Linked DNA regions of Homo sapiens: region 2 is linked to region 1. Evidence: promoter capture Hi-C in 16 types of primary human blood cells and fetal thymus (Javierre and others, 2016). All regions are on one chromosome and are shown on one strand. The core of a region is centred on a gene start or on the middle of the fragment in contact, and the rest is flanking DNA. Distances in the headings are between cores, read along the strand shown.

What was found. The method cuts DNA at HindIII sites, captures the fragments that hold promoters and counts their contacts. A CHiCAGO score of 5 or more calls a contact.
Region 2: a contact is called between a fragment that was not itself captured here and the fragment with the promoter of FAM3C in region 1, in 1 of 17 cell types (non-activated CD4 T cells). The highest score is 6.8, in non-activated CD4 T cells.

Annotation. Positions count from the first base shown.
Region 1 is chr7:121,394,350-121,397,602 of GRCh38, forward strand. FAM3C (FAM3 metabolism regulating signaling molecule C) reads right to left here and starts at 1,959. Exons shown (of 10, transcript NM_014888.3): 1 at 1,813-1,959. RefSeq lists enhancers at 996-1,581, 1,582-2,166 and silencers at 1,394-2,223, 2,264-2,323. The HindIII fragment of the contact is 3,372 bases long and covers 328-3,253 here.
Region 2 is chr7:114,922,156-114,925,702 of GRCh38, forward strand. It overlaps MDFIC (MyoD family inhibitor domain containing), which reads left to right. Exons shown (of 5, transcript NM_001166345.3): 1 at 1-481; 2 at 772-972. The coding sequence starts at 879. Among named protein-coding and RNA genes, the nearest start is that of MDFIC, 1.8 kb to the left of the region's middle. RefSeq lists silencers at 1-18, 349-398, 409-588, 819-958. The HindIII fragment of the contact is 601 bases long and covers 997-1,597 here.

The DNA of each region.
Region 1 (3,253 bases), core at 709-3,208:
TTAGTTGACAATGCTTAAGGCAGCAATCCACATTAAAAATCTGTAATTGTAATAAAACATCCATTAAGTTTATTTTTAAAGTCACTTTAAGCCAGTAGTGTCTTATTTTTACTCCCTTTTGAAACAGAAGCCCCTTACAATGAGGATTTTGAGGAACCTGTCCTGTGTCCCTCTTACAAAGTTCCCATTGGTAATTCAGAGAGGTCCTCAGGTTGAGAACTGCTGGACTGAACTCCTTTTATTGGCTCCAACTCTTCTTATTTCTTCCTATGAAGAAATGCTAGTCTTTATTGAGTTGAGAAAACATTACAAGAATCTGTGAAACAAAGCTTCTAATACCTGTATAAAACTGAAAACCTTGTGACTTTATTGGTAAACAGCCAAGAAACACAAGAGACTACTAGTAGCCTCTAGAAAGAGGTACAGGTCGATGAAGTGACCAAAACCGGATGCTGATTTGCTGATTCTGCCAATTTCTTGTTAAATGGCTTTCAGTAAGTGATTAACTTTTATTTTCTAAATTCAATAGAGATCTGCTGGTACTCTGTAAGATACTGTATGACTAATAGTAACGGTTCCCAAGACTTAAGAAAACGTAACTGCAAATTGGCCACAAGTCCAAGGGGTCGGGGCCTCTGCTATCAGCATTGACCTTTACTCTCGGGAGTTCATATTTCCATCTGTAAAACTAGAAAAGATAAAGGGACTTATTCACTGAGCTGTTGTGAGAATAAATGAGCACACGAAACCATTTGGCAGTGCCTAGTACACAGTAAGCAATCTAATATTATTTATGTCATTGTATCCATATATATATGGATACATACATATATATGGATACATGGATACATACATATATACGGATACATACATATATATGGATACATACATACATATATATGGATACATACATATATATGGATACATACATATATATGGATACATACATATATATGGATACATACATACATATATATATATGGATACATACACCTGGCTAATTTTTTTATTTTTTAGTAGAGACGAGGTTTCACCATGTTGGCCAAAAAGAAACAAAGGAAAAGTCCTATCAATTAGATAGCAGTTCTATATTACAGGCAATAATATTTTTTCTTAAAAAAAAAAAAGGTAGAGGATGATGGAAACCGCTCCTCCCACAAGTAAAACAGCTGGAGCTCTCAATCTCAAATTGCCAATCCGTCACTCACATATTCAGATCTAGGGCCACTAATCATCATCCGTGGTCCCGAGCTGTGAGAGCAGTAGCAAACAAATAGGAAGAAAAAGAAGAGACACCAAACATCAAAGGGCTGGATAGCTTGTAAAAAACCAAAAGTACCTCTAGTATAGGCGACACTAAAACTTTACAAGTGAGTCAAAACGGCCCCCTATGGAGTTGGAATGCAACACCCAACTCCGTCCCCACCTCTCGGAGCTCTCAGCCTACACGCTGCAGGGGCGCGAGCCACAGCCAACCTGGGGAAGATGCGACCCAGGTGCCCGCCCCAGGCCGGGGCGCCGAGTGCCAGCGCCAGGTGCAGACGCCGCCCCGTCTCCGCGGAGCCCGGGGATGCCCACGCCGGGGCGGCGGCCGGGAACCCCGGCCAGCGGCTCTCCGGGACCCCAGTCCCGCCTGCGCCCTCTCCAACGTCCGGACACGCCGTGACAACGCGGCCGGGCCCGGGGCCCGCCCCCGGCCGGTGACCGCAGTGCGCGGAGGCTGAAGTCGTAGGTGGGCGTCTGGCTTCCCCGGCCTCCTCCATCCCTCCCCGAACCTGAGCCCCGGCTCCGTCCGCCTCCCAGCCGTCTCACCGGCCTCCCGCCCGCCTCTCCGCCGCGCGCGCCCGCCTTCCGGCCTCCCAGCGCTCAGTCCTGCCGGAGGCCGACGGGAGCCGCCGCCTCCAGCTCGCGCCTCCGCTTCCTCTCGGACTCCTCCGGCTGCCCCTCACCCCGGCAAGTGGCCAGGAGAAAGCCAGCTCGCCGCTGGGCCTCCTCCCACGCTTCCCGGCCGCGACCAATGGGCCCCCGCCGCCGGGAAGCCGCGCCCGCCCCCTGGCGGTGGAGGACCAAGCGGGCGCCCGGGCCGGCCAGAGGGAAGGGCCGGAGAGCGGAGGGAGGGGTCTGCGGTCCCGCCCACCGCCCCCGGCCAGGCGCTGCACAATCTGAACTTGCCACGTGGGAGCTGCCGCCGCCGCAGCGGCCCTGCGCCGGGTGGCACTACGGGAGGGAGAAAAATGTGTCACCGCCGTCTCCCCACCGTTTACACGCACAAAATCCCAGCCTCAAGGGCAGAACATTTTAAATGACCCACCCATCCTAGAGATGCGCCAGTTAGGTCATCTTATATATCTTGAGATAGCTGAGATGGTCAGATCAACCAAGGACCTTGGGTTATTTGCCGTTTGACTTCTTGAACCCTAGGAAACTGATTCTGAAAATCCTACTGTCCAGCGTCATTAGAATTCTGATCACCTTTAATGCACCACCCAAGAAGAACAGTAGTCCTTGCATTTTCCAAGTCACGTTTATTTTTTAAATTATAAGATACACAATCGTTAGAAATATTTTTTCTCAGGAGATTTCCTACAATTGTGTTGATAATTGGGAAGTTAATCCAAATCTTACTACATAAGACCTTAGAATGCAAAATTATTTCATAATTCAGATCCATATTCTAAAATAATGAATAACTGTTACCTAGTATTTGACAGAATATTGGGATCATCAGTGGTTGCAGAAATTAAATTGCATTTAAAAATAGGGTTTGACTATAGTGTGTTAATATAGAATTAATAATCTACCAAATTTTAGCTTTCCTCCAAAAATATAAAACACACAAACTAATAGTAACTATGAATTCTGGAGTTTGTGATCCGTGATCAGGGGAGAAAGCATGAAATGAATTCTCATTGTCTTCCATGTGCCAATATTATGCTATTTGTGTATTACTTAAATCAAAAAACTAAGACTCCAAAACTGAGTTTAAATATCTTGCTCAAAAATACAAGATAGTAAGTTATGAAGCTGGAATTCCGGCCTAGCTTCATGTAGCTCCAAATAAACAAAAAGGCACTTTGCTTATTATAGTACCAAAAAATCATAACACTTACTGTACACATGCCTCTCCTAGACTGCTATGTCTCACTGAAAGAGTTTATGAAGCCTCTTGAGTAGGGAGGTCACGGTGTATTTCTGAAAGAGCAATCTGCTCTGTAACCGAGCCAACCAGATTGGAAATTACATGTGACATATT
Region 2 (3,547 bases), core at 47-2,546, 6.5 Mb before region 1:
CAGGCCGGCTCTGGCCTCCTGACCCAGACAGCGCAGGGCGCGAGGGATCGCGCGGCCGAGCCCGGGTCGCGCCGCTCCCAGCATCGGGGCCGCTAGCCAAGAGTTCGAGGCCTTCCCGATCCGGATGTGATGAAAAAGAGCAACAGAGGGAGAAGTGTTTCAGGATTGTAGGAGTGGAAGAGGGGAAAGAGAGGCAGAGAGGGGGAAGGCCCCCTCGCAGGGGAGCCGGCTGGAGTGAGCTGGCTGGAAAGAGGGGGCGGAGTGCGCGGAGTCAGAGCCGCCACCGCTGCCGCAGTTGCCGCCACTGCGGCGTCTGGGCTGAGCCGGAGGGAGGCGGGAGGACGCGCAGGGGCGGCCGCCGCCGTCGTCAGGCCACCGGGGCGAAAATGCGGCCGCTGCCGGAGGCTCGCTAACTTTCCGGGGCGGAAGAGGAGGAGGAGGAGGAGGAAGGGGCTTGGAGCGACTACGGGGGGATGCGGAGGTAGGTAGTGGTCTCCGGGCGGGGAAGAGGAGGGGTTTGATCCCCATCCCCGGGGTTCTCCCAAACCCGATCTCTCTTTCCAGCCCCTCCCCGCTGGGTCCACCTCGGACCCCTGGGACCCCGCCGCTGTCAACTTGCGCTGTAACAGTTTTCTTCGCAAGTTTCAAATCAAAACTTCCCCGGGGTGGAGTTTGAGGGAGGGAAGTGGAGGGGGAGGGAACGTCCCGCAGGGGTGGTGTGCTCTTCTCTAAAAACATTTTTTTTTTTAATTTTGTATATTTTTCCGCCAGAAGCAGTCAGTTCCCTGCACCCAGCACCTCACAGCCCTTCCTCCGTGCGCCCTGCCGGGCGGCGAGCTAGGCGGCAGCGGCGCGGCGCGGGCTCGGCGGAGCGGCCCATGTCCGGCGCGGGCGAAGCCCTCGCTCCCGGGCCCGTGGGGCCGCAGCGCGTGGCCGAGGCGGGCGGCGGCCAGCTGGGCTCCACAGCCCAGGGTGAGTGCGCGCTTGCAAGTGGCAAGCTTCTTTGTCATTGTTGCATTTTTCAGTTTGCTCACAAGTGCACAGATAGGGGTGGGGGGAGTGCTGTGAGGAGGGGCTCCCACTCGTAGTTGAGAACTTTTGCACAGTTCGCGTTACTCAGGCAAGTTCTTCAGGATCCTTGCCCTAGATCAACAACCGGGTAAGAGGGCGGGAACCGTTGGTCCCTCCACTCCCCCTTCCTTTGGTTGCGAAGAAACAGGATGACAGGATTGCTTCTTTCTTAAGCATATGCATGTTTGGGCCTAAGACTCAATGTGTAGGTTCTGAAGCGCTTCTCCTCTAGGTCTCTTCAGCAGATCCAGGACTGCCGCAGCTCTCTGAACAAGCGTGCACTTACTCCATTTCATCTTTCTGTTTCTTGTTGGCTCCTCTACCACCCGGTTGATAATTCAGGTTTCTGTGACCAGTAGCTTTGGAATGGCTTATGCTTGTTTTCAATAACTGGTTTGTTTTGAAATAAATAAACAAGGTTTATAAGAAACACTTTCCAAGAATGAATTAGCTTCTTTGTGTTCTTCCAAAGTGTAAACACACACAGCCTATAAAATACTCTTGTGTCTGGGAAACTTCCATAACAAGCTTCTAAACGAGTTGAACCTTTCTTCTCTTGAAGGCAATATACTTTAGGTTTCCATTGGTGACAGAGAGGAAGGTTCTTAAACTTCTAATGCATTTTACTCTAAGGATGGTTTTGAGCTAAAGAATTCTGTCACTGATATATCAGAACTAAGTAATTTTTCCAGTGCTCAAAAACCTAGCATATACCCCTGATTTTAGGCATAAACTGATAGCTTTATTTCCCACTTGTACTAATGTAGTGAATCTTAGGGATTTTTTTTAAGGCAGCAAAAATTGGAGAAGGAGTTAACTTTCAAGCTGCAATAGGTAAAAGCAGAAAACATCTTGGTTAAATTAAAATGTTCTGGCACCCAGGGCTGTTAAACTGAATTACATTTATCATTATTTTTTGCCTCTAAATGAGTGACTCAGCTTTCTAAACAGAAAATAAAAATGATTAACTGCAGAAAATCAGAGAACTAGAATGATAAACATATGTTTTCTGAGAAGCAGCCCGTGTTCTCCACCTTGTATTGTCAGCACAATCATTTTCCTGTCATTAGGCATGCCCTTAGTAGTCATATCGACTCATTGATGGGCTGTTTATGCTCACACTTGAGCTGCTAATCACAATTGTTAAACCAGGCTTATGTCAAAAATCAACATCAAACACCCAAGGAAAATAATTTGACCTGGAAATAGCTAATATCTACAATATCCAACTTTAATAGTTTGCATTTCTAAAATCATCTGGGAGAATGTGCAGTGGTACTTAATGTACCTGTGCATTAGGATGCTGGATGGTGTCATGTGATCTGAACTTAAGAACCCGAAAATCTAGAGTGGCCTGAAGTACATTTGTTGGGTACAACACACGTTATCAGTGTAGAAACTCTTGGGTTATATTTTACCTGAAAATTGCCTTAGCTTTAGCAACATAGTTATACATTTTTATTATTATTAGTTTAACTTTGATCCAAAACTTTCTTTAAATAGGGATCAGTTTAATTTAAATATAAAGTTGATTTTTAAAAAGAGAGTCTGCAGAATCTTGTTAAAATATGATGTCTTAAACAGGCAGATGTCATAAGGTGTATTTAAAGAAAGAAATTCTTGGAGCAAATGGTTAGAGGAAAGCTTCAAGGGAAGCTTGGTTAGGTTGGTTTTATTGATAAAGACATTTGTGAAGAAGCTTTGCTCGAAGGCCACTCTACTCTTAAGCCTTTTCTCAAGTTCTTTTATCCTCTTGCTTCTGTCCTTGGATTCTTTATCATCCTTTCTGAAGAATAGCTTAATAATTCTACGGTAGGATATGGCTGCTTAGTTAACAGAAACCTAATTTTTAAATTCTTTATATTAAAGTCAGTAAGAAAAGTGGAATTTTAAATACAAATTAACAGAAAAAAATATTATTTCAGGAACATGAAGGATATGATCAAGTCTACCCCTGCAAAGTTAAATATATATATATAGGTAAATAATGACATTACAAGCTCTACATTTATTACTATACTATATTGTGATGAGCTATCCATACTGTTAACCAAAGGCATGAAACATTACAGTTGAAAGTAATTTTGGGGATTCTCTAATCTGAACTCCACATCAAGTCTAAAATTCAATTCTACATCCTTTTAGGTGTTTTGTTAAAAACCTGTAGTGAAGCCCATTCTAGTATTAGCATTAAGAATTAGAAAGGTTGTCCATATTAAGAGCATACTCTTCCTCCTTAAAGTTTCTACCTTTTTGTTGTGGTTCTGCAAGGCTTTCTATTGTTTTGAAAGCATTAAAAAGCATTACAAATCTTTCCCATGTGTTTTGAAAATAGTTACAGAGCAGGGACATAAGCTTACATGCTCCAGGCTGTAAGAGGGAACCAGGATAGATGTCAGACAGTATGGAGCAATGGGGATTTTGGGGAACTGGAGAGCTCATGGGCCAGGAAACAACATTCCTCAGTTTTAGCTAA